Linked DNA regions of Homo sapiens: all the other regions are linked to region 6. The links are contacts of gene promoters, found by promoter capture Hi-C in human tissues and cell types (Jung and others, 2019). All regions are on one chromosome and are shown on one strand. Each heading gives the region's core, a stretch centred on a gene start or on the middle of the fragment in contact. The rest is flanking DNA. Distances are from core to core; before and after follow the strand shown. Region 1 overlaps FARP1 (FERM, ARH/RhoGEF and pleckstrin domain protein 1). Region 2 overlaps IPO5 (importin 5). Region 3 has its middle 53 kb from the start of IPO5. Region 4 overlaps IPO5 (importin 5). Region 5 overlaps IPO5 (importin 5). Region 6 holds the start of FARP1 (FERM, ARH/RhoGEF and pleckstrin domain protein 1).

What was found. The method cuts DNA at HindIII sites, captures the fragments that hold promoters and counts their contacts. A contact is called where the count stands out against the background at its distance.
Region 1: a fragment that was not itself captured here is called in contact with the fragment with the promoter of FARP1 in region 6 in 9 of the 25 tissues and cell types used here (H1 embryonic stem cells, IMR-90 fibroblasts, dorsolateral prefrontal cortex and 6 more).
Region 2: a contact is called between a fragment that was not itself captured here and the fragment with the promoter of FARP1 in region 6, in 1 of the 25 tissues and cell types used here (dorsolateral prefrontal cortex).
Region 3: a fragment that was not itself captured here is called in contact with the fragment with the promoter of FARP1 in region 6 in 4 of the 25 tissues and cell types used here (aorta, mesenchymal stem cells, spleen and 1 more).
Region 4: a fragment that was not itself captured here is called in contact with the fragment with the promoter of FARP1 in region 6 in 2 of the 25 tissues and cell types used here (IMR-90 fibroblasts and mesenchymal stem cells).
Region 5: a contact is called between a fragment that was not itself captured here and the fragment with the promoter of FARP1 in region 6, in 1 of the 25 tissues and cell types used here (mesenchymal stem cells).

Annotation. Positions count from the first base shown.
Region 1 is chr13:98,287,778-98,292,267 of GRCh38, forward strand. All of the region lies in intron 2 of FARP1 (FERM, ARH/RhoGEF and pleckstrin domain protein 1), which reads left to right. Among named protein-coding and RNA genes, the nearest start is that of MIR3170, 81 kb to the left of the region's middle. The HindIII fragment of the contact is 9,849 bases long and covers 1-4,490 here.
Region 2 is chr13:97,958,038-97,962,383 of GRCh38, forward strand. The region is part of intron 2 of IPO5 (importin 5); the gene reads left to right. Among named protein-coding and RNA genes, the nearest start is that of IPO5, 6.5 kb to the left of the region's middle. The HindIII fragment of the contact is 5,039 bases long and covers 1-4,346 here.
Region 3 is chr13:97,898,815-97,903,069 of GRCh38, forward strand. It overlaps the pseudogene RPL7AP61. Among named protein-coding and RNA genes, the nearest start is that of IPO5, 53 kb to the right of the region's middle. The HindIII fragment of the contact is 4,150 bases long and covers 1-3,882 here.
Region 4 is chr13:98,001,118-98,005,523 of GRCh38, forward strand. It overlaps IPO5 (importin 5), which reads left to right. Exons shown (of 29, transcript NM_002271.6): 14 at 1,350-1,474; 15 at 1,567-1,656; 16 at 1,747-1,920. Among named protein-coding and RNA genes, the nearest start is that of IPO5, 50 kb to the left of the region's middle. The HindIII fragment of the contact is 3,648 bases long and covers 746-4,393 here.
Region 5 is chr13:97,978,095-97,982,286 of GRCh38, forward strand. All of the region lies in intron 4 of IPO5 (importin 5), which reads left to right. Among named protein-coding and RNA genes, the nearest start is that of IPO5, 27 kb to the left of the region's middle. The HindIII fragment of the contact is 7,265 bases long and covers 1-4,192 here.
Region 6 is chr13:98,140,489-98,145,085 of GRCh38, forward strand. FARP1 (FERM, ARH/RhoGEF and pleckstrin domain protein 1) reads left to right here and starts at 2,606. Exons shown (of 27, transcript NM_005766.4): 1 at 2,606-3,004. LOC105370328 (a long non-coding RNA gene) reads right to left here and starts at 3,422. Exons shown (of 3, transcript XR_931670.4): 1 at 3,351-3,422. RefSeq lists silencers at 2,057-2,106, 2,347-2,656. The HindIII fragment of the contact is 5,274 bases long and covers 1-4,597 here.

The DNA of each region.
Region 1 (4,490 bases), core at 197-2,696, 150 kb after region 6:
TTATGCCATGTCCCAGGCACTTCTTTTTTTTTTTTTTTTTTTTGAGACGTAGTCTCGCTCTGTCACCAGGCTGCAGTGCAGTGGCACGGTCTCGGCTCACTGCAACCTCTGACTCCCTGGTTCAAGCGATTCTTCTGCCTCAGCCTCCCGAGTAGCTGGGACTACGGGCACCCACCACCATGCCCGGCTAATTTTTGTAATTTTAGTAGAGACAGAGTTTCACCATCTTGGCCAGGATGGTCTGGATCTCCTGACCTCGTGATCCGCCCACGTCGGCCTCCCAAAGTGCTGGGATTACAGACGTGAGCCTCCGTACCCGGCCCCACACACTTCTTTTGATGATAGGAATACATGGGTGAACAAAACCCATGCAGTCCCTGTTCTCATGGAGCTTAGGGTCGCTGGGGGAGGACTGACATTCAATTAGTAAGTAGCACAATAAAGACTGAGGAGGGATGGTATAGGTTTGCTTATGCATAGCTAAGTGTGTTATTCTTCAGTGGTTTTCCTTCATCTTTGGGATAAAATCTAAGCTTCATAGCACGTACATATGGCTATTCTGGAACTGACGGGAGCCTCTTGATATACTTACAGATCCTCTCCACGCTCCCGCCCCATGTCTGCGCTTCATTGGAATGCCTTGGCCTCTTGCTTCTTGAACAGACTTCAGTATGAGCCAAAGCACTATTACTTCCTTGGAGTCTTTCCTGCTTTCTTATTCATGATATTTCTCCTTGGTGCGCTTGTGGCCTCACTGTGTCCCATCACCAACCCCTTCACTGTGTAATTTTGTATTGTCTCCTTTAAATAGATTCTGAGGCCCTTGGGCCCAGAAATGCGGTTTTCTGTCATTTTATCCTTAGTGTCTGTCTTAACATCTGATAGGTGCTGGAGGAGTCTCATGGTTAGTGGTGCCTACAGACGGATCATTGTTTTGATGGCGGTAACAGCACCTGGGTTCCACAAGTGTTTGAACGAATACACACACCCCTGCTGGATATCCAGTGAATGAGATTTCAGCTTTGGGCGAGATGCTGGCCTATGTGGTGTTTAAATGTTTTGAAAGTTATCACTGCTTTTTTTCTATTACATAATTATTTATTTTTACCAAGCTCTCAAATGTCTTAATTGTGCCAGTCATATGTTATGAATTCTATTTCTGGGTATTGTAGGAACAGCAGTTCCTATGGCTTTTTTTTTTTTTTTTCTGTGTATGAGCAATTCGACTCAGTGGGATGATATTTTCTTTTATAACTCATTAATGTTTGCGATACCGTGTACTCAAATATTCAATGTCAGCTGTCAGCTACCATTGGGATCCATCCCACAGACCATCAAAATGTACTTTTGGGCTGAATTAGTCCTATGCCAAGACTTGTGGGTGGATCCAGCAGCAGTTGGGAACCACGTGCCAGGCCTGGTGTATGTGCTCACGGACACATTAATCCGATCATACCTTTCTTCCCTTAAAGAAACAATTAATGTTAATGTTATTGTACTTTGGCTAATGCAGAGTCTCAAAGTTAAATTAAGCACAACATAGGAAATTCTAAGTGGTTACCCGTAAAATGGAAGACCGTTTCATTCCCGCTGAGTGCAAATCTGGTGTCTCCGTATACTCAACATGAATGGCCGTAATACTTAATGCTTTAAAAAATGCATCTATTTCCAATGATAGATGAAAAGCATTTATTTGAGCCATCCGCATGCAGTGAACAATCTGTAAAATATTTGGTTATCTTCAGCTGGGCAGCATTCTTCCAGCTCGTATTGAGCTTGACTACGTCTAGATCTCATGCAAGGCATCCGGGCCAGCCATGAAGGAGGATGAGGTCCCTGCTCTCAAGGAGATCACTGTCTCGATACACAGATGCTCAGAGCCCTGCAGGACCCCTCTGGCTCTTGGTGTGGACTGTGCACTGCATGCTATTTCTCTTGAAAACTCTAGAGAACTGCTCGCTGTCCTGTGGGTTAAGTCACTTAGTGTAATCCCGAGGGAATAAGCAGACGCCCTCCCGAAAGCCTGGCATCTGGGACTGTCAACATTGATTACTACAGGGACCCAATGAGATGGAATTAAAATTAGCCCATACAGAAAAAGAGCACAGGAACTGTCAGGGAGATAGGAACATTTGTCCTGGAAATACCTGGGTTTTTGAATAGGTTTCCTGATGCAAAGGTCAGTGTTTCATACACACGCGTACTTCTCCCCACAACACCCCCATTTTACACCTTTCAGTACAACTCTGATTTAGAGAAGTGTGGTGGAGATTTATCTTTTTTTTTTTTTTTTGGTGTTGGGTGGCGAGGAGGGAGTGGTGAGGTTGGGAAGGGCAGTCCGTCATCCCCAAGCCTTACTTCTGGGGGATTTCCCCCTTGTAGAGGGCTGGGAACTTACGTTCCAGTACAGAAAGACAGGAAAAGACCTAACTACATCATATGCCAGGTGGTACTAAGTACTACAAAGAAAAACAAAGTAAGGGAGGAAGGAGAGAGCATAATGGTGTGCAAATGGATATATACATGTTCATATTTTATAAAACTTGTCAGACAGGCCTCTCTGAAAAAGTGACATTTAGCAGAGACCTATGGGAAATGACCTCAAAAATGACTTCCCCATTTCCCATGGGTCTCTGCTAAATGTCCAAGTTTTAGAGAGCAAAAAGAGAACGTGCAAAGGCCCTGAGGTAGAGAGCATGTTCTGTGTCTTTAAGGAACCGCAAGGTGTCCTCCATGGCTGTAGAGAACAGGTGAGGGACAGTGTGGTATAGGGTTGGATGCCCAGAGAAATTGCAGTAGGCCAGGAACAGTTCAGAGTTTATTCTGAAGGACGGATCTGACCTGACCTTGCAAAAGGACCACATTGGCTGCTGAGTTGGGACAGTAGTGGCCAGGAGACCAATGGCGGTGGCTTTGAGTAACATCGTACTGGTGTAGGTGGTGGGAAGTGCTGGGGTTCCAGCTACATTTTGACAGTAGAGCTGACAAGATCTCCTAAAGAATTGGGTATTGAATGTGTGAGAAAGAGGAGTCATGGATGACTCCAAGGTTTTTGGGCCAAGGAGCTGGCAAAATGGAGTTGCCGTTTTCAGAAGGGAAAGACCAAGGGGGCAAACACATGAAAAGAACATTAGCCCCTGAATTTTAGATACTTTCTTTGCTCCATATGAAAGGAACTTGAAATTTGAAAGGATGCACATCTCTGATTATATAAGTAAATATTACAGTTGCCTAGTTCTTGAGATTACAGTTGATCCGTGAACAACGCAGGTTGGGGTGCCCAACCTGTGCAGTCAGAAATCCACGTATACCTTTTGACTCCCCAAAAACTTAACTACTAATAGCCTACTGTTAATCAGAAGCCTTACCAATAACATAGTCAATTAACATGTTTTGTATGTTGTATGTATTATATACTGAGATTCCTACAGTAAAGTAAGCTAGAGTCAAGGAAAATGTTATTAAGAAAATCATAAGGAAGAGAGAATACATTTACGATTTGTTTAATGGAAGTGGATCATCCGAAAGGCCTTCCTCCTCATCGTCTTCATGTTGAGTGGGCTGAGGAGGAGGAGGAGGATGAGTGGCTGGTCATGCTGTCTCTGGGACGGCAGAGGCAGAAGAAAATCCACATGTAAATGGATCCTCACAGTTCAAATCCATGTCGTTCAGAGGCCAAATGTATTTGGGTCTGTGAAACTGGCCTTTGCTTTCCATCGTGGGCAGAGTTAGCTGATTATAAAATCATTCGTTCAGCAGAACTTGGTGGTTGGATTCCAAACCTGCAAAGGAACTATCATGAGGGGCAAGTTTCTGCCAGCGGGTATATCCCATCCCAGCAACACTGTTCTGAGCCCCTCAGCAAGATTCCATGTCCTGGTGCAGGGAGTCACTCCTTGTACTCCCAACAAGCTAGCCAGAGTACTCCTGCCCCGTCAGCCTCCCTCCCCACCTTCTCATCACTGTTTGCTGTCTCTCCTTTGAGCGCCTCCAGGTCTCTAAGTCTTTGGTGTAAGTGGCCCTGCCAACTCTCTCTTGGTCATTCAAAGAACAGTCTGTGTAAACAGCACCAAGTTGACACCATCTGGCCCAATTCCCCTGCATTTTCTTGGAGAGTGATTGTCTTGTGAAGCATTGAGACAAAGCCTTATTTGAGGAGAGTCCTTGGTGGGGAAACAATAGCTTCTGTGTTCTTCACAAGAACCTCTTTGGAGAGCAAACTAAACTTGGGTGGGTGGATATTGAAAAGGCTTTTCCAAGGGTAGGAAGCAAAATGTAATTATCTTCCTCTGCAGGAGTTTTTCTGTTGACATTTCCTGCTCTTAACAAAGTATAGTGTGTGCCCTTAAGTGTGTTGTTCTGGAAGCATCCACAGCCCTTTCAGTGTATCTTACATGCTGTGGATAATTTAAAAAGTACCCATTTATTTTACAAGTTGGAGGGAGTGTAAGACCCACTGAATTCAATACATAGCATCCACATTTTTAACC
Region 2 (4,346 bases), core at 784-3,283, 180 kb before region 6:
AAGAGAATTACAACTTAAAGTGACTAATGTTAAATATACTATTATATTTGGACTATATATAAACTAGAAACCTCCAGGGCCTGGCCTCAGGTGGAGTTGTCTTGCAGCTGATTGCTTGGCTCTCTTCTCTCTTCCCAACCTGATGTCATCCACTTCCACAACTTTAAATGCCATGAAAGTGATGGCTTGCCATTTCCAGCCCTGCCCTCTTCCTGGGCTCCATTGTCCCTCTATCCTCAGCCACGTGGCTGTTTCCTGTGTCCCACAAAAGTGCCACGAAGGAAACCCAGCTCTTCTCTCCAGACCTTACCCCAAACACCTCCTTCTCATCTTAATAGCATCATCAGTTGCTCAGTCACAAAACCTGGGCATTCTTGATCTCTCCCGACCTCACCCCCACCATCGGGAGAGGACTCATCAAGAAATTCCAGAAGCTTAAGTGTCAGGGACTCTCCTTTGCTCAGGACCCTCTATCTCATTTTGTGTTACCCCATTGCAGGGTCCTCTATCTCATTTTGTGTTTAGTTTTTATTTTTCTTATGGAAGGCCCTCAAACTGTATGATTTAGGCCTCACAAACCTTGGATCGGCCTCTGCACCCTCTGTCCAGCTCATTTCCAAAAGAAAACTATCTCAAAAAAAAAAAAGAAAGAAAGAGAAAAGAAAACCATCTAAAACCGACCACACAACAGTGAACACTGTTGATTGCTACCACCTCAGTCCAAGCCCCATCCCACCCCACCCCACACTGCAGCCAAGATGATCTTTGAAAGTTGAAAGCTTCTCAGGTCAGATCTCTTTCTTAACCCTCCACTAGATTCCCCTTTCCCCTAGGACAAGTCACACTACAAGAGGCAGGACACGGTGGCTCACACCTGTAACCCCAGCACTTTGGGAGGCTGAGGCAGGTAGATCACCTGAGGTCAGGAGTTCAAGACCAGCCTGGCCAACATGGTGAAACCTCGTCTCTACTAAAAATACAAAAATTAGCCAGACGTGGTGGCGGGCACCTGTAATCCCAGCTACTCGGGAGGCTGAGGCAAGAGAATTGCTTGAACCTAGGAGGCAGAGGTTGAAGTGAACTAAGATCACGCCACTGCACTCCAGCCTGGGTGACACAGCAAGACTGTGTCTCAAAAAAAAAAAAAGAGAGAGAACAAGTCACACTACAGAACCATCACAATGCCCTAGTAGCAGAACATGCTGCTGAACTATCAGGGTGCCCTGGGTGATCTGGCCTCTGCTGGCCTCTCAACCCTCTCAGCTTTAGCTATCCCCTTCTTTCCTTTCTGGAATACCCCAACTTGTTTTTGCCTCTGTCCTTCGTATTGTCACCTCTGCTTGAGAGAGCCTCCTCCATTTCTTTATTTGCCTCATCTTTCATTGTCACCTCCTCTCAAAAGACTGTCCCGGCAGGGCACGGTGGCTCACGCCTATAATCCCAGCACTTTGGGAGGCCGAGGCGGGTGGGTCACAAAGTCAGAAGTTCAAGACCAGCCTGGCCAACATGGTGAAACCCCGTCTCTACTAAAATACAAAAAACAAAAATTAACCGGGTGTGGTGGCGGGCGCCTATAGTCCCAGCTACTTAGGAGGCTGAGCCAGGAGAATTGCTTGAACCCGGGAGGCGTAGGTTGCAGTGAGCCTAGATAGCGCCACTGCACTCCAGCCGGGGTGACGGACTGGGACTCTGTCTCAAAGAAAAGAAAGACTGTGTCCCTAGGGTATGACCCCACTCCAAATCCAGTCATTCGTGATCCCATTATCTTCTTTTTTCACCTATAACTGTATGCAAGTATCTTATCAGTTTACTTGTTTATTATCTGAATTCTTTCAAAAGAGCTAAGCTCCCTGAAGGTGGGAACCCTGTCCGCATGCTCACCGTGGAATCCCCACAGCCTAGCAGCACCTCCCACAGAGGGGTGCCTAATATTTTTCTAAACAAATGAATGAAGAAAATGTTCATTAAACAAATACTACTGCAGTTAAATGTGGCATCAAGCAGTACTACACATAGGATGCATGGAATTGAAGCCTATGAACCATTATAAGGTCCCTTTCATTTGTTCCTCATTAACTGTGGATGACTAAAAATCCATGCTGCCAATAGCTCCAACTATGAGATGCAGATCGATGTCACAATTCAGACTCCATTATGTATGTCCTCACAATGCAGGAGGTGAAATGTGTATGTCATGTGTCCAAATTGTAAGATACTTGCTGTAAGTAGCAAAAAGATGGGAAGGAAAGTCTACAGACCAAATCATATCTGAATCTCCCCATTCTCCCTCTCCACAAATATTGGTTTAGGAATTCTCCGAAGTTTGAAGGTTATGAATGGTTATCACTCAAGGATTCAGAACTAAGGTAAAAATACTGTGAATGATAGGGGGAAAAAATCACTAATTGAGGTCTAAATCAATATCCTTCAGCTCTCTAAGGAAATGTATTTTTAATATAATAGCTTTATTGAGACATTCATACACCATAAAGTCCAAATTTTACTTTTTATTTTATTTATTTGGTTTTTTTTTTTTTTGAGATGGAGTTTCACCCTTGTCACCCAGGCTGGAGTGCAATGGCATGATCTCGGCTCACTGCAACCTCCACCTCCTGGGTTCAAGCAATTCTCCTGCCTCAGCCTCTTGAGTAGCTGGGATTACAGTCGCGCACCACTACGCCCAGCTAACTTTTGTACTTTCAGTAGAGACAGCGTTTCACCATGTTGGTCAAGCTGGTCTCGAACTCCTGACCTCAGGTGATCCACTCGCCTGAGCCTCCCAAAGTGCTGGGATTACAGGCATGAGCCACCTCACCCAGCCTAAAGTTCAACCTTCTAAAGTGTACAATGGAGTGTTTAGTATATTCAGTGGGCTGCACATTCATCACTATCACCCTTTCCTCACCCTAAAAGAAAACTCCATACCTGCTAGCACTCACTGATTCCCCTACCCACCCCATGCCCAGGCACATGGCAAGCACCAATCTACTGTCTATGGATGTGCTGATTCTGGACATTTCCCATAAGTGGGACCAAAAAAATGTGTGGTCTTTTTGTCTGATTTCCTTCAGGCAGTCTAATGAGTTTAAGGTTCACTCATGTTGTTACATGTATCATTACTTTATTCTTTTATTGCGAAGTAATATTTCCTTGTATAGTTAGAAGACATTTTGTTTATCCATTCACCAGTGGATGGACAGTTGAATTGTTTCCACTTTTTGGCTGTGGTGAATAATGTTGCCATGAACATTCATGTACAAGTTTTTGTGTCAACATATGTTGTCTTTTCTCTTGCACATATACCTAGGAGTGAAATTACTGAGTCAAATGGTAACTCAGGCTGGAGTGCAATGGCACGATCTCGGCTCAACGCAACCTCTGCCTCCCAGGTTCAAGTGATTCTCATGCCTCAGCCTCTCGAGTAACTGGAATTACAGGCATGCGTCACCACACCCAGCTTATTCAGACTGTTTTCCAAATTGGCTGTAACATTTTATGTTCCTATTAGCAAAGTATGAGCGTTTGAATTTCTCCACATTCTTGTCAACACTTGCTGTTGCCTTTTTTATTAAAGCCATTTTATTGGGTATGAAGTGGTAACTTACATTGTGGTTTTGATTTGCATTTCTCTAATGATGAATGATGTTGCACATCTTTTCATGTGCTTATTGGCCATTTGTATATTTTCTCTGGAGAAATGTCTATTCAAATGTTTTACCCATTTTTTTAATTGGGTTGTCTTTTTTTAATTGAGAGTAGGGCTTTTTAAATATTCTGGATATAAGTCCCTTATAAGACATATGATTTGTGGCCAGGCGCAGTGGCTCACACCTGTAATCCCAGCACTTTGGGAGACCAAAGTGAGTGGATCACTTGAGGTCAGGAGTTCAAGACCAGCCTGGCCAACACGGCAAAACCCCATCTCTACTAAAAATACAAAAATTAGCTGGGCGTGGGGGCGCACACCTGTAATCCCAGCTAATCTGGAGGCTGAGGCAGGAGAATCACTTGAACCTGGGAGGCAGAGCCTGCAGTGAGCTGAGATCATGCCAATGCATTCCAGCCTGGGTGACAGAGTGAGACTTTGTCTCAAAAAATATACATTATTTGCATATATTTTCTCCCATTCTATGAGTTGTCTTTTCTCTTTCTTGATGGTGTCCTTAAAAGCACAAAGGTTTTAATTTTGTGAAGTTCAATGTATCCATTTTTCTCTTCTGCCTTTTGTGATTTTGATGTCATAGCTAAAAAATGATTGCCTACCCCAAAGCGATGAAGATTTAGTCCTATATTTTCTTGTAAGAATTTTATAGTTTTAGCTCTTACATTTAGTCTATGATCCACTT
Region 3 (4,255 bases), core at 558-3,057, 240 kb before region 6:
GATGAGGTCTAGTTTCATTATTCTGCATATGGAAATCCAGTTTTCCCAGCCCCACTTATTAAAGAGACTGTCCTTTCCCCCATTGTATATTCTGGGTACCTCTGTGAAAAATGAGTTGGCTATAAGTGTGTGGATTTATATCTGGGTTCTCTATTCTGTTACATTTGTCTATGTGTCAGATTTTATGCCAGTACTATGCTGATTTGGTTACTATAACTTGGTAGTATATTTTGAAGTCAGGTAGTATGATGTCTCTAGCTTTATTCTTTTTGCTCAGGGTTGTTTTGGCTATTCAAGGTCTTTTGTGGTTCCATATAAATTTTAGGACTCTTTTTTCTATTTCTGTGAAGAAGATCAGTGGTATTTTGATAGGGATTGCATTGAATCTGTAAATTTTATTGGGTAGAATTGTCATTTTAATAATATTAAGTCTTCCAATCCATGAGCATGGAATATATTCCCAGTTTTCATGTGTCCTCTTCAATTTCTTTCATCAATATTTGATCATTTTCCTTGTATAGATTTTTCATTTCTTTGGTTAATTTCATTGCTAGATATTGTGCAGTTTAGATAGCTTTATGGATTTGATAAGAAGTTTGTCTTGTTACCACGTCATTGTGTACTATGGACTTGCCCCTTCAGGGTCTGCCCAGAACGTTCTCAAGCCCAGGAATCCCTTTCAGAATCCAGCTCCACCATTCCAGGAAGGGGGAAGAGTGAGGAAGCCTCACTTCTGCAGATGTTCTCTGCCGATTTGGGGGTGGGTATGTGCATACTGACTGCAGTGACCTCACCCACAGATGGGCTAACCAAGCTATAACTGTTTATTAGAAACTAGAATGGTTCCATGAATATGTCATTCACCATTTCTTTAGTAAATTCAGTTTACATCATCATCTGCCTACAAGATAAAGAATACTTTATGCGTAGTATCAGCTCACTACAACCTCTGCCTCCTGGGTTCAAGCGATTCTCATGCCTTATCCTCCCTAGTAGCTGGGATTACAGTGACCAGTTTTCTTAATGAAGTATTTTTCCTACTGGGAAAAAGAAAACCAAGAAAGCTTTCCCTCCACAATTGGTGGGGAGGACGCTCATGTTCTGGCCTTTCTCCACTTTCCTACCTGGCATTCGTCATTCTTGGAACCTCCCGCCCCTTCTTCTGCGTCACTGCTGTTTCTGTGAGCATTATAAGCTTGCAGTTAATTCACCATATGACCTAAAGTCAGAATAATGACATATGGAATTTCAGGCTGATTTGCTGTACAAAGAGATCTAAGCATATGCCTCTTGAGAACAGGCATTGCTGTTACACAGCACCGTGAACACATCCATACTGGATTAATTTGGAATTTGCAAAGTTTAAAAAGAAACCTCTCAAGAACTATGACCATGATTATAAAAGTCAGACCACCAGACTATGATCTGTATCCAAGGAATGGTACTGAAGATTTTCAACCCCACTGAGCCTGTTATACGGATGGCTAACAGAGTCTGGGCTGAAGAAGAGATGTATACATTATCTTTTTTCTGTAGGTTTCTCAGACACCACCTGGGCAGCTGACCTATTTCACTGTCAGAAGCAATGACATGAGTCTCATATGTGATACTTTTCCAACAATTCTAAGCTTCAAAATAAACAATTTTGAAAACCTGCAGCTCAGCACTTGGCATTTCACCAGAACTTTCCCAACTCCCCAAAGCCAAATCTGTTTTTTTATTCTACCATGGAGTGCCTCGTTTATCTTTCCCAGGAGAAAATGTAAAAAAAAAAAACCACCTACAGAATTTGGTTTGGAGGGTATATAATGAACAGATAAAATGATCCTAGAACAGTAGTCCCTTAAAAAAGTTATATCAGGCCTAGATTCTTCTAGGAATATGTATATATAAATAATAATAATCTAGTATCCCAATTTTTATTCTCTTTGATCTCATTAGTAGATTTCTCAAATACCAGGTAAGAGAGAGCAACCCACATAAAATAGACAAACAAAAGACAGCATGTATTTTAGAATAATTACAGAGTTCCGAGTATAAATATCCTAGTGTTGCTAATATCATACTTTCTAATCAACAGAGGACATAAAGATTTAATGCTGTCTTTATAGCACATGAAAAATTTATTTTTGCTTACTGAGGAAAGAAGTATAAAAATTGATTTGATACAGTCCATTTTTAAAAAAAAAGATAAGTCTTTACTATGGAGGAAAATAAAACCTCAATGTTTGGTCATATTTACATATGTTGACTTCTAGAAGTACAGATTTAGACTGACCTTGAATGGCCAGATTTATTTCTGTAAGGCGAATCTGGAAAACTTCTCTACAAATGTAAACCATCAGGGAAACGGGTGGCATCAGGCCTGACAGGGGCTTGTTGATTTTAAATATGGCACATGTGTTATTTTAACCAAAATTTAAAATGCTATCAAAATGTTTTAAAATGTTCAAATCAAAGCTGAATTATTATTTCCAGGCTGAGCACAGTGGCTCATGCCTGTAATCCCAGCACTTTGGGAAGCTGAGGCAGACAAATCACCTGAGGTCAGTAGTTTGAGATCAGCCTGGCCAACATGGTGAAACCTCGTCCCTACTAAAAATACAAAAATTAGCCAGGTGCATGTCTGTAATCTCGGCTACTCAGGAGGCTGAGGCGGAGAACTGTTTGAACTCAGGAGGCAGAGATTTCAGTAAACAAAGATCGCACCACTGCACTCCAGCCCAGGCAACAGAGTGAGACTCTGTCTTAAAAAAAAAAGAAAAGAAAAAAGAAAAGAAATTATTATCATTCCCGGTTAGGCCTACAAAATGGGATGCAATAATCACCCCTGTCTGCTTGTCAAATGCAGCTGTTACATCCAGCTGTGGTGGCAAAGAGTCTTCCTTTATAAGTGTTTGAAAGCATCCCCTGAGATGAACCAGCTCACTCAGACATTGGCCAGTCAAACAGCTACTGAATTGCTTAAAGTGGCCAACTACATTCAGGCACAGAGCAAGAAAAGCAGAGAGCTGCCAGAAAAGGGGTATCCCCACTGAGACTGCCGGTCCTTTAAGCAGGTGTTTATAAAGTCACCACCTTGGTGGAGAACAACAAGGCTCACCTGGGGATGACTGCACATGTGTGGATTCCACTGAGCTGGTTGTTCTTCCTGCTGCCTTGGGCTCTAAAATGGGAGTCTCCTAGTTCATTATCAAGAGAAAAGCCAGACTGGTGGGATGTTTCCTCCACAGAAAGACCTGCACCACCATTGCCTTTACACAGGTTAACTCAGAAGACAAAGGAGTCCTAGCTAAGCTGGTGGAAACTACCAGGACCAATTACAATGACAGACATGACAAGATCTGCTATCATTGGGGATAACATTCTATCAAATTTATGGCTCTCATTGCTAAGCTCAAAAAGCAAGGCTAAAGAACTTGTCGCCAAACTGGGATAAAGGTTTAATGTTACCTTTACTGTACATAAAAATAAAAATTAACCTTCAAACATATTAATCTCATTAAAATACCTTTATTCTCCAAATTTGCATTGTACTATAGCCTAGAACGCACAGACTCATTTACTATTTACAGCTCGTGATCTCCCCAAGCCAATGAAATATTCTTTGTCCCTCTACCTTATATTTTAATTTCTTGGGTGCCTGTCCTTGCTCTCCTAATAGATAGACTGCAAGCTTATAGAAGAAAAGAAGTGTATGTTTCTTCTCCTTGGACTGACTTGATTTAGGTCTAAGATCGCTTTATTGTTGTTGCTTACATTCTTACAGCTCCCAGCACAGTTCTGCACACATGGAAACAGTACAGAGGCCAATGAGCGATGCACAATAGGGCCCCTGGGAACTCAACCGTGCACCCACATCTACAGCACATATCAGTCTCTCTGCTTCTGGGGATTATCTACACACTGCAAGTGGTAAATTGGTTAGTAGTTACCAATTCTGTCACAATCGAATGTTTGTGCTCCTCTAAAATTCATGTTGAAACTTAGTTTCCAATGTAATAATATTAAGATGTAGGGCCTTAAGGAGGTGATTTGCTCATAAGGGCATCTCCCTCTTGAATGGGATTAAGGCATTTATCAAAGAAGCTTCACCAGGATTCTGCCCTTTTTGCCCCTGCACCTTCTGCCATATGAGGACACAGTCACAAGGTGCCATCATGCAAGCAGACAGCACAGCCCCTACTAGACACCAAGTCTGCTGGCACCTTGATCTTGGACTTCCCAGCCTCCAGAACTGTAAGAAATAAATTTC
Region 4 (4,406 bases), core at 1,320-3,819, 140 kb before region 6:
CCTGCTTCAGCCTCCCAGAGTGCTTAGATTATAGGCATGAGCTACCACACCTGGCCATCCTTCCTTTTTATTTCTATGAATATTTCAGTTACCTTTGTACCTGTAATATATATATCAATCCCAAAGTTTATTGTTGTATGTGTTTTATTTTCATTTGTGTTTTTTAATTATAAAGTTAATGTGTTCTTTTGTTAAATTAAAATTCAGAAGTATTAAGTTAGAAATTTGTTTGTTTTTTGGTGGAATCTCGCTCTGTTGCCCAGGGTAATGTGATCTCAGCTCACCGCAGCCTCCACCCACTGGATTCAAGCGATTCTCCTGCCCTAGCCTCCTGAGTAGCTGGGACTACAGGCACATGCCACCACGCCCAGCTATTTCGAGACAGAATCCCACTCTGTCAAACAGGCTGGAGTGCAGTGGTGCAATCTTGGCTCACTACAATGTTCACCTCCCAGTTTCAAGCAATTCTCCTGTCTCTGCCTCCCAAGTAGCTGGGATTACAGGCATACACCACCACACCCAGCTAATTTTTGTACTTTTAGTGGAGATGGAGTTTCTCCATGTTGGCCAGGCTGGTCTCAAACTCCTAACCTCAAGTGATCCGCCCACCCTGGCCTCCCAAAATGCTGGGATTACAGGCATGAGCCACTGCACCCGGCCTAATTTTTGTATTTTTAGTAGAGACGGGGTTTCGCCATGTTGGCCAGGCTGGTCTTGAACTCCTGACTTTAAGTGATCCACCCGCCTCAACCTCCCAAAGTGCTGGGATTACAGGTGTGAGCCACCGCGCCTGGCCTGATACATACTTTTAGAATCAAGTAGTCACGCACTTTTTCTGTTCATTTTTCTAAAAAGTAAATATACAAATGTTTTGTTTTTTGTTTTTTTTGTTTGTTTGTTTCTGTTTTTTTTTTGAGACAGAGTCTCGCTCTTTCGCCCAGACCAGAGTGCAGTGGCGCGATCTCGGCTCACTGCAAGCTCCGCCCCCCCGGGTTCACACCATTCTCCTGCCTCAGCCTCCCGAGTAGCTGGGAATACAGGCGCCTGCCACCGTGCCCGGCTAATTTTTTGTATTTTTAAGTAGAGACGGGGTTTCACCACGTTAACCAGGATGGTCTCGATCTCCTGACCTTGTGATCCGCCCGCCTCAGACTCCCAAAGTGCTGGGATTACAGGCGCGAGCCACCGCGCCCGGCCTATACAAATGTTTTTATATTATATATACATATACCCTTTTCAAAAAAGTTTTGTTACTCTTTTCCAAATAAGAACTTTTATACATCTCCCTCTACCAGAATGACATGTTTATAGTGTGTAATTGCTATTCCATCTGTAATTTTTTTCGGTAGCTGACTGGAAATACCGGCATGCAGGATTGATGGCCTTATCTGCCATTGGTGAAGGGTGCCACCAGCAAATGGAAGGAATTCTAAATGAGATCGTAAATTTTGTTTTACTTTTTCTCCAGGATCCTGTAAGTACCAGTAAATATTTGATTCAAAATGATTAGTGTAGCTTCATGTGGAAACCTTCTTGCTTTTACTAATGAAAGGGAACATTTTCCAGCATCCAAGAGTAAGGTATGCAGCCTGTAATGCCGTGGGACAGATGGCTACAGATTTTGCACCTGGTTTCCAAAAGAAATTTCATGAGAAGGTAAGTAACAAGTCCTCAAACACTTAAATCAGACTTTAGGAAGAAGGGTGGACATTTCAACATGTGTGCCCATTTGGTTTCATTTCACAGGTGATTGCAGCTCTGCTGCAGACCATGGAAGACCAAGGCAATCAACGTGTGCAGGCCCATGCAGCTGCTGCCCTCATTAACTTTACTGAAGACTGTCCCAAGTCACTACTTATTCCATACTTGGATAATTTGGTGAAACATCTGCATTCCATTATGGTACTGAAGCTTCAAGAGGTAAGTTTTAAGATCTGTAGGCTGCTTTCTGTTTGTAGATTAATTTGGGTTGATTTGATGGGTAAGAACTGGAGAAAGAGGGACTTGCAGCATGACCATAAAGAATATAAAGTACAAAAACTGAGGAGGCTATTCGGAGTTGTGGAATGATGAGTAGAGAAATTCAGATTGACCAAAATGTGGGCTGATAATTGGAATTGGGAAAGATACAGCTAAAGGTCAGGTAAAATCAGTGTATATGGATCACCCTGAAAATAAGGCAGAGAAGTTTTTGAACTCTGATTTATGTAAAGTGTGAAAAACCATTCTGTGTTCTTAAATGCTGCAGGAAATTATCATATGGTAAAAAATTAGTGTGGTAGCATTGGGTGAGGCATACACAAAAAAGGGAGAAGATTTAAGGCAAGACCATCATACTGTCATCGTCCAGGGAGCTTAGATAGTAATAGTGGAAGAGGTGATTCTAAAAGACATTTCATGGGAAGCATTAACAGTTTGTTTCTGGCAGTTTGAATTTTAAAAGATGAAAGGGCCCGGCACGGTGGCTCATCCCCGTAATCCCAGCACTTTGGGAGGCTGAGGCAGGTGGATCACCTGAGGTCAGGAGTTCGAGACCAGCCTGGCCAACATGGTGAAATCCCATCTCTCCTAAAAATACAAAATTAGCCGGGTGTGGTGGTGCACGCCTGTAATTCCAGCTACTCGGGAGGCTAAGAGGAGAATCACTTGAACCCGGGAGGCAGAGGTTGCAGTGAGCTGAGGTGGTGCCACTGCCCTTCAACCTGGGCAACAAGAGCAAAATTCTGTTTCAAAAAAAAAAAGATGAAAGAGAAGAAATTAAAAAACATTGAGTATTCTAACCAGAGTGGCAGAAATACAGAAGTTGTAGAAGCAACATCATTTTTGAGTATCCAAGTAAAAATGATTATAGTTACAGCTGAAATAAGGGATGCAACCTGAAAACAATTGAATGATGTTAGTCCAGCACAGTGTGTGAGAGATGTAGATGCGAAAAGCAAGGATTTTAGCCCAGTTTATTGTCAAATGTTTATTGTCAAATGCAATGAAAATGGATTACTACTATAAAAATGAAATGAATAGAAGGCATAGAAAATAAAAGATAAACCTGCTCTCAAATTGCTATAAAAGTTTCTAATGCCCTCAATTCCTATACTTAATATGAACTGGTAGCAAATAGTTAACAAACCACAGTTTGCATAGCACTGGCAATTGGTCAGAGAGCAAGATAAACAAGAAATGCAATGTCTCAGAAGCCAAAGACAGAGGACTTATAAACAAAGGCCCAAGTGCTCAGTATCAGATGACAGCAGACTAAGAATATGATAAAGGAAACATTCGTGTGCCCGAAGGCAGACCGAGGTGGACCCAAGTTGAAGGCAGATTGGTTGGTTGGTTAAATCAGTAATGGATGGATCCAACATGACTTTACAGGTTTGGGTGGATGGCTGTGGTATGATAGTCTGTGTGTACCCCTGCCCTTCCTTCCTGCAGTGAGGCACTATATGGGTTTTTAAAGATAAGTGGAAGGAGTTGTTGGGATGGGATGGTAGGAGGACAGTGTTCACGAGGAAGAGTTGTACGAAGAGAAGGTAGCCTAGCAGAGGAGGAAAGACATTTCCTCTGGGGCCAGCAGCACAGTCCACACTAAACATGGAGCAGAGGTTGAGGTACAGAAGCAGAAAGTAAGATGGCTTTCTCAAGACATAGTTGAATGTGTAACACAAGTTAAAGAACTCTGCTGAGAGTGTGGGTGTAATTGACGTGGGGAATTATGAAAATCTGGAGTAGTAACTGGCTCAGGTTCATATGAGTTAATATTTTATTTTATTTTATTTTATTTATTTATTTATTTATTTTTATTTTGAGATGGAGTCTCGCCCAGGCTGGAGTGCGATAACGCACTCTCTGCTCACCGCAACCGCCGTCTCCCGGGTTCAAGCCATTCTCCTGCCTCAGCCTGCCGAGTAGCTGGGATTACAGACGTGCACCCACCACACCCGGCTAATTTTTGTATTTTGAGTGGAGACAGGGTTTCACCATGTTGGCCAGTCTGTTCTTGAACACCTGACCTCAAGTCATCCGCCCACCTGGGCCTCCCAAAGTGCTGGGATTACAGGTGTGAGTCACCGTGCCTGGCTTCTTTTTTTTTTTTTCCCCAGACAGAGTCTTGCTCTTGTCAACCCAGCTGGGATGTAGTGGCGCAATCTCGGCTCACTGCAACCTCTGCCTCCCCAGTTCAAGCAATTCTCCTTCCTCTGCTTCCGGAGTAATGGGATTACAGGGGTGTGCCACCACACCTGGCTAATTTTTATTTATTTATTTATTTATTTATTTATTTATTTATTTATTTAGTAGAGACAGGGTTTCACCATGTTGGCCAGGCTGGTTTTGAACTCCTGACTCAGGTGATCCGCCTGCCTCAGCCTCCCAGAGTCCTGGGATTACAGAAGAATTATTTTAAAATA
Region 5 (4,192 bases), core at 231-2,730, 160 kb before region 6:
ATTCACTTCATTAAGTTTTTATTTATTATACATGTAATACATGTTCAGGGTAAAAATTCAAACAGTGAATCGTTTCTTATCCCGTTTCCCAAAGGTGACCGCTTGTGTCGTGAATCTTCGCTGAAAATTTAACATACACATTCATTTTTTACTTAATGGGCTTATAATACTATTTACACTATTTTGCAACTTGAATTTTTCACTCTATATTTCACATTGCCTCATAAGTGAGGTTTTGGTCAGCTATAGATTATACATCATATGGATAGATATTTATATAAGCAACCCTCTATGAAATGGATATTGCGGTTTCCAGTGACCTGCTCTTTTAAAAATAGTACTATGCGCAGGAGTACATGTATACCTATCTTTGCATACTTTGCCAGGTTTGCTTGTAGAATACTGAAAAGTAGCATTTGTTCCTAGAAGTGATATGCATGTATTGCACCAGTTTGCCTTGGGGATATGATGATGCTTTAAAAAAAAAAATTAATGCTTTCTGGTAACTCTTGAGATAATTTTTCGCCAAAATAACTTTTTAATCCCAGCATGAAAATAATAGAAATTTTCATGTGTTACAAAGCAGAACAGCATTGTAATTAGTAAGCTAGTTTAATTCTCTCTGTTCCCTCCAGTTGCTTAAGTCTCTATTGTCAAGCCTAGTGGGGAATCTCTCTTCTATTGAACTAAATACCAGTGTCTGGTTTAGCTTGAATTCCAATTGGTGCCTGTTGTAAATCTTTTATCACTTACATCACTTTGGGGATAGTTATCAGCATTCAGCACATTTTCTCATAAAGAACAATTGGAAATAAGTACTGTTATTCTCTTAGTCTCTTTATTCCTAGTGAAAACATTCAGATACTAGGTTTTTACTTTCTTTGTATATCCTGAGAATGTATTAATATGTAAACTAAGTACTGTGATACAGAATTTTCTAATTTGACCTCCAAAAAAGTAAATGTTAAGAGAAGCTCTCTGGTGCCATAGAATGCCCCTTTCTTTTTTGCCTAATGAAATAAGCGTTTTATAAGAGATCAAATGAAATAAAATTAGCATTAAGTCTGATACAGCAAATATAGAAATATTTTCTATGAACTGAAAAATTGGCCAGGGCTCAGTAAATATCTTTGTAATTTACTCATTCAAAATAAAAATACTTAGTCGACACATAAATACCAAACTGTTGACTAAGGTGACTTTTGTATTCAAATATGGTTATATATTTGGTTGAAATCATTGAAGAGACGTCAAAACTCTAAAAAGTTAAAACTTTTTTCGTCGTATATGCCATTTAGTAGGCTTTATAGTTTATTTCTATTTTTAAAAATCTGTAAGGATATTTCTCTTTAACTTTATAGAAAATGTTTCTCATTTGAAGAAACGTATGTGAATGTCCCTGAGTCTCAGAATACAATAACGTGAATAAACCATTGAATAAATAGTTGACAAGTAGTGCAAAGTACAGTATTCATGGTATTTATCACTAGACATTTTTATATGACATAAGCTTAAGTATTTATTAATCATATGCATGGATTTTATTTTCTTACTAAGGTTCTCCATACAGAATTTGTTCCTCATTGACTCTAATAGAGAATTTCATTGAGTGTTTTTTGTAGAGACAGGGTCTTGCTGTGTTGCCCAGGCTGGTCTTGAACTCCTGGCCTCAAGTGATCCTCCCATCTCCCAAAGTGTTGGAATTACAGGCATGAGCCACCACACCCAGCCCATTGTTGAGATTTCAATAGACAGAGGATAACATTGAAAAATATACCTGATTGTTGAGGAACCAGGGTGTTAATAGATAAAAGTCATGTGTCCCCTCTTTTACTTTTCCTCATACAAGGTAGGCTCACTATAAATATTTATGGAATGAGATGAGTACATATGAGCATTTCTTCTTCGTGGGCAGGGAAGAGGCGGAGGAGAAGTCTTTGCATTGTGTAAATTGTATAAGGTGGAATCAAATCAAATTGAAATTTTGTTTGCCACAACTGATAACATTCACTGAACCTAACTGGACTAGTGCTAGGAATAGTATTAGAAACAGTCTTTATAATTCTTATACACTAATATGCTACGTACTTAGATACAAAGATAAAAAGTTACCATCCCTGTCTGTGTGGAACTTAGACTGTTTAACCATTATCCTTGACCATTGTGATGGTATTGATGTAATACTATATTTGGATTACCACAGTGGAACATATCACATGGAGAGAACCCTCTCTCAACAGACATCATCTGTCACTCGTACTAAACTCTCCCACCATTGGCTTCTAATTCATTATGGAGTAGAGTTTAATATTTGGCCCAATGTTAAGTTGGGTCAATTGTTAAGTCTACTAGAGTTAGCATAGTCACACCAACAGTTCCGCCTGGGCAAGAGTAGGGAGCCTCAGGATTTATATTAGGTTTTCTGACAGTGATAGCCTAGTAGAGAAGTTTATGGCTGGGCGCGGTGGCTCATGACTGTAATCCCAGCACTTTGGGAGGCCGAGGCAGGTGGATCACGAGGTCGGGAGTTCAAGACCAGCCTGGCCAAGATGGTGAAATCCCATCTCTACTAAAAATAAAAAATTAGCCGGGCGCGGTGGCAGGCGCCTGTAATCCCAGCTACTGAGGAGGCTGAGGCAGGAGAATCTCTTGAACCTGGGCAGCAGAGGTTGCAGTGAGCCGAGATCGCACCACTGCGCTCTAGCCTGGGCGACAGAGTGAGACTCTATCTCAAAAAAAAAAAAAAAAAAGTTTTTGCAAAAACTTGATTTAGACCACTGAAAATTTAAGTGTTAAACATTGATCACATTACCAGTGTTTAAGTGGCTAAGCTGGGTGCTTTTTATTGTATAGTGAGATACTTTTTAAATGAAAACATACTACTGGTATAAGGAGTTGCTTTGGTAAATATTAAGTGAAAAGTCTCAAAGGTACATAACCATTTTTGCATTCAGCTTGTGAATATCTTTACATAAATTATCTCTTCTGGATAAATAAATTCAAACCATCTTCTCTCCTCGGCTGTGAATACTTTTTGGCACAGTTTTCAGCATTGTTAAGATCCTATGTGCTTTTTACTAGAATGGGAACTTGAGGTTATCAGAAGATCTTGAATTCTCCTTTCCCCCAAAATCTGTTCTTCCCCAGACAGATATGTTTGAAAAGTTTGAAACCTGTGTAGCACTGCATAAATAGAACTGGTTGTTTAATGAAGTGAAACAGAGCTTTCAGTACCAGAGAGATTTTGAATATGGTTGGCCTTAGAGGACCAGAGTTCTGTCTGCTATTCATTGTCTATGATCTTAGGCAAGTCATTAACTTATAAGCCTTTATTTCCTTATCTGTTAATATCTCATGGATGCCATGGGGCACTTAGTAAAAGGTTTAAGCTAGATGTGGATTCAAAATAGCCTTGTTTTTCCTCCCTTGTCACTTTGTTCCAGAGAAGCCACGTATAGAGGTATGGTAGCAATGAGAGCAGGTAAGCTCTAAAGAAATCAATGTTACCCACATTAGACTCAACTCTAAATTGCTAGATAAGAATGGATTATCTATTTACTAAGAGGCTTCTTAGAGTAAGCAATTCCAAGTGTACTTAAATTGATTTCTTTTCCACAGTGAACAAATACCATCAGAATTCTTGCATATGAATCTGCACTTCTCTGGACAGCATATAGTTGGTTCTTGTTTTTTAATCTGTTCTGATCATCTGTCTTTTAATTGGTGTCAACTTTTTATTGTTAACCAATTTGTTGTGATTTTACATTATTAGCAGAGGATAGAGTGTCCTGAGTCACAAACCTCTTGCTAATAGATCTACAAAAGACGATAAAGCCTCCTGGCCGAATTTATCCTGACCACATTCATTTATCTATGTAGTAAGGTTTTAGTATGATCCTTGCTTGGAAGAAAATGTAGCATAAAGGATTTGAATACTTTGTTTCTCTGACTTACTTCCAGGTGTGTGTCTGGTGGTTCTAAGCAGTGGTAATTTGAACCAGTTGTACATCATCCAGTCTAAAAATGTTAACGAAACAGTTTCTCATGATGTAAGGTGATTTTAAGTGAGCCCTAAAGTTTGCAGCACAATGGCTTAAGTCACATTTGGCAATTTTTTGGCCCTCTTAGGCCTTGAGTTTTGTTAACCAGGGAGCATAAGTTGGGAAAACATGCACACACATTAGAAACATTT
Region 6 (4,597 bases), core at 1,356-3,855:
GCGGAATGTTGGTGAGAGCTGGGAGGAAACGTAGGAAGTTCTCTAGTGTGACCCCACCGCTTTACAGCCTCTCTAACTAGATTCCCAGAACTGCCCCTTCTCCCCTCTCTTTTCCCCCATTAACTCTCTCCCCATGGGCTCCTGCCCTCAGCCTGCAAACCTCAGAACGGCTCCTTTAAAAGTCACCTTCACAAATGTTGATAATGTTGAGATAAGGCAACATGGGATATTATGTATTATCATATTGATTAATATGATCAATATATTATGTGTTATGATCATAAATAGTTTTAAGATCACAACTAAATCTAATTCTAGACATACAAAGACTATGAAAGAAATGCTGTAACATGTAGAAAATGTCGGTCTTGCAAAGAGAGTGACTGGGAAAATGTCACTTTTCTAATTTTCTGCGCTTTCTATGATTTTTTGCTTTTATTATTTTTATGATTTTTTTTTTGAGATGGAGTCTCACTTTGTTGCCCAGGCTGGAGTGCAATGGCACGATCTCGGCTCACTGCAACCTCTGCCTCCCGGGTTCAAGCAATTCTCATGCCTCAGCCTCCCGAGTAGCTGGGATTGCAGGCGCGCACCACCACGCCCAGCTAATTTTTGTATTTTCAGTAGAGACGAGGTTTCCCCATGCTGGCCAGGCTGGTTTACAAGTTCCTGACCTCAGGTGATCCACCTGCCTCAGCCTCCCAAAGTATTGGGATTACAGGAGTGAGCCACCGCGCCCGGCCTAATTTTTTCCTTTTAGTTGGGAGGTATGACATAGCACTTTGCTACTACGTGTAGTCCTTGGACCAGCAAGTAACACCTGAGAGCTTGTTAGAAACAGTCTCAGACTTACTGAATCAGAATCTGCATTCCAACAAGATTCCCTGGTGATTCAGGTATACACTAGAGTTTAAAAAGCCGCCTACAGCAACTGTTCTCAAACCTGGCTACACACTGGAATCACCTGCGGAACTTTACTGATGCCTGGGTTAGAATCTTTATATATTTGGCTGGGGTGCAACCAGGGTGTTGTTTTTTAATCGCAGATGATTCCATGAGTTTGAGACCCACTGTCCTAACACTGTGATCCTCCAAGTGTGATCCCAGGACCAGAGCAACATCACTATCTGGGAATTTGTTAGAAATGCAAACTCTCAGGCCCCACCCCAAACCTACTGAATCGGCAGCTCTGGGGATGGAGCCTGACAGTCCTTTATCCCTGCAGGCGATTCAGATGCTTGCTAAGGTTTCATTAGGTAGGTCGGGGATGCGGCCCAAGAATGTTCATTTCTTGACGTTTCCAGGGGCTGCTGGTGGTGGTCGTGGTCTGAGAACCACACTTAGAGAATCACGAGCAGAAAAAAATCTGATCTGTGACACACAGCTGGTTGGGCTGACAGAGCAAAGCCTCAAACCCACCATTTCTTCTCTTCAACCACAGACCACCAAATCTGCAAGTATTACATCTCTGCTCCTCCCCAGGAGCTGCCCACAAGCACCCCCTACTTCCAAGACCCCTGTTCTTGTCTCAACCCGCCCTTCTATCAGGGTCCCTACACTCCACTTCTGCCCAGCTCCTGTCCAGCTGTGAGTTCACTTGAGGCCTCTCCCGTGAAATCTGCCCTCTCGGTCTGAGGTCAGGGAACTCCTGTAAGACGCAAAAGGCCCACGGTTCTGAGCCAGTGGCCTCCGAAGGCCGGAATCCGCTAGCCCCGGGTCTGGCAGAACGTCACTTGCTGCGCCCTAGGCCTCTTCCCGCCACGCTTAGAGAGAGGGACTGGAGGCTCAGAAGGGGGAAGAGAAGGTAACGCGGCAGCTGCTGGGTGGGGACGGTGACTGTGCCCCTAGATCGCTGCCTCCTGGGTCCTGAATCTTGCTCCCCGCTCCGTAGAGTTCCCGAAACCCCGAAGGCTCTCAAGCACCGCAAGCCACTCCTAACCTCCCCCACGCCATTCCCCAAGGGCACTGTCCCCCGAGGCTGGGCGGGCGGGAACTGTCATGGGATTCGCTCGGGCGGAGGGCGCTGGGCCAGGACGTGGGCGGGCGCGGGGTGGCCGCCGCTCCCCCAAGCTTAAGTCCCGCGCAGCCCGGGGTGGTGCCGGAAGCCCGTGCCTGTGGCTCCGGGGGAGGGGAGGGCTCGGTGGGTCCCTGAAGACTGTCCTCCCCGCGCGACGTCGCAGGCGAAGCAGCCCCAGGCAGGACCTCAAAAAGCGACCTGCAGAGTCCGAGCCCCTGACCGCCCGCCTGCCGCTCCCGGCTTCGCCGTGCACACGTCTCCCGCTCTCCCCGGTTCGTTTTTCGCCACAGCTGCTGGATTCGCGTCTCGCCAGTGGCGCTCCCCGCGCTGCATTAGGTAGCGCCGCGCGGAGCCCGGCCCTGGCCGGAAGCCCAAGAGAGGCGCAGATCCCCGGCGGCGCGCTGGGCTCGGGAGGCCCCTGGGCGCACCTGCCCGGGCGGAGCGGAGCGGGGCGGGGCGGGCGCAGGGCGCGGGCCCGGACGCTGGAGGGGGCTGTGGCTCTCCCGCGTCCCCGCTGCTCGGGCTGCGCGGCGCCCGCCTCCCCCCGCCGAGGGGCCGGCCCAGACCCGGGGAGGGGCGGTGGCCACTGCACTTCCCGCTCGCCGGCCTCAGAGGCGGCGGGTCCGGCGCGGGCGCAGCGGTGCGGGCGCTCGGCTGGGGCGCGGGGCGGGGACGCGGCCGCTGCCCGCTTTGCGCCGCTCCTCCCTGCGCGAGTAGCGCTGGCCCCGGCGTCGAGGCGGCCATGGCGACCCGGAGCCCGCTCCCCACCCACCCCGCCTGCTCCGCCCTCCCCTCCGCCCCGCGCCACCTTTGATGGCTCGGACCTCAGCCGGCCACCGCCAGCCCTGCTCGCGCGCCCGCGCCGCCGCCGCCCGCGGGTATTAATAGCCGGCGCCGCCGCGCCCTCGGCCGCCGGGGGCTTGGGAGCCGCCGATCCCGGAGCCCGAGCCGGGAGAGGGAGCCGCCGCAGCCGCCGGCGCTGTGGAGGTAGGAGGCGCGCGGTGAACAATGACCGCGGCGGGAGGGCGGGGGCCGGCGGGGTCCGGGCCGCGGGCGGCAACTTGTGCGAGTCCAGGCTCCCGCAGCGCACGGCCGCGGCTGCGGGCGAAGGTGGGCGCGTGGTCCCCGAGGTCCTGCCCTGCGCAGTCGGGCGGCGGGTCGGGCCCGGGCAGCCCCGGCCACCATCGCAGGAGCTCGGGGGCCTCGGGGCTCCGGGCTGCCCCCTGCGCCCCTCTCCCCTCACCTCCGCCGACGTCGGGCTGCGGGGCTCCGCGCCGGTCCCCGCTCGCCTCCCCCGACCCCGGCGCCCTTCCCCCGTTTCCTTCCGTCCTACCCGCCCGCTGACAGCGCTGGACGCCGCTTCCGGACCTCGGGCCGCAATCTCGGCCCCTGAGGCCGGTTGCGGGCCGGGGAGGTGGCCGCTGGCGCGGATGCCGCCGGGTGCCCGCCGCTCGCCCACGCGCGGCGCGAGGGTTCCCGGCGGGTGACAAAGAGGAACACACCCTCTGCCCAAGTTAGATTTGTGTCTCTCTTTACTGTCTGCCTTTATGCAGGGCAAAGTTTTTTTTATTTTTTATTTTTTAAAGCAAAGGACAGATTGCTTTGCGGCGAGTATTTCCAAACAACTTCTGATTGTGGTTTTACGATTCAAGTTCCGGAAACTTTAGCTGTGTGATCCGGCTGGACCCCGGAGACTCTGTGTGTGTGTGTGTGTGTGTGTGTTTTATTTGAGGGGGGGAAATACGAATTCCCTGTAATGAGTCTGGATCTCGTTTGTGGCAGCTGGAGGCCAGCGGCTGTTGGGGATCGAGTAGGGTTCCCCAGAAAGGAGGGAGCTGAGGCTCACAAAGAAGCGAGGCCCTGGTATCTGATCAGTTCGTGGAGACGTGGGAGAGCCTGCTTGTCATCTGGAACAGTTTAGCAGCCTCGGCCTCCCTGTCTCTCCCAGCCCTGGGGAGTACCGGTGGCCTCTGGCCGTTTCATTATATTGTTGTTAAGGCTCTTCTCCTTGTCAGTTTACCAGGTTTGACCGCCCAGCCCTGGTCTCTGCGTGGAAACCCCCGGGGGCCCCTCTCCTTCCAGTAGGCAACATCTTCAGAGCCAAACCCTGGCCTAGCACTGGCTTCTGTTTAATGTGCTTTGCACGTGGTGACTTGCGGAGCCCATTTCAGAACATCCTCCAGCATTGTCTTGCTTTTCTTATTCAGTCTGAACAAGGAGAGGAGAAAGAAACATCTTTCTGGTCCTGAAAGCTTTAGGGAGAGTTGCCTTAAAAATTGGCTTCGTTGTTCCGGAGACTTTAGGAGGGCCCTGCTTCATCCTATCTTTGGCTTTCTCCCTCCTTCCACAGTGTTCTCGTAGGGGGTTTATTCTCAGTCTTTCGGATGGGTTGGTCTCCAGGATGTGACAGTTTCTGACAGTGTGCTTCATAAGTGGGTACAGCTAGCACATGGCTCACTTTATATTCCTGCAGCATCGTTCTGCAGCAAGGCATCAATATTGGAGTTACTCCAAGCACAACGAAGCGTTTGTGTTTTTAGAATGTCTGGCTAATAGATCTGCTTCTGGGTAAAATAAATA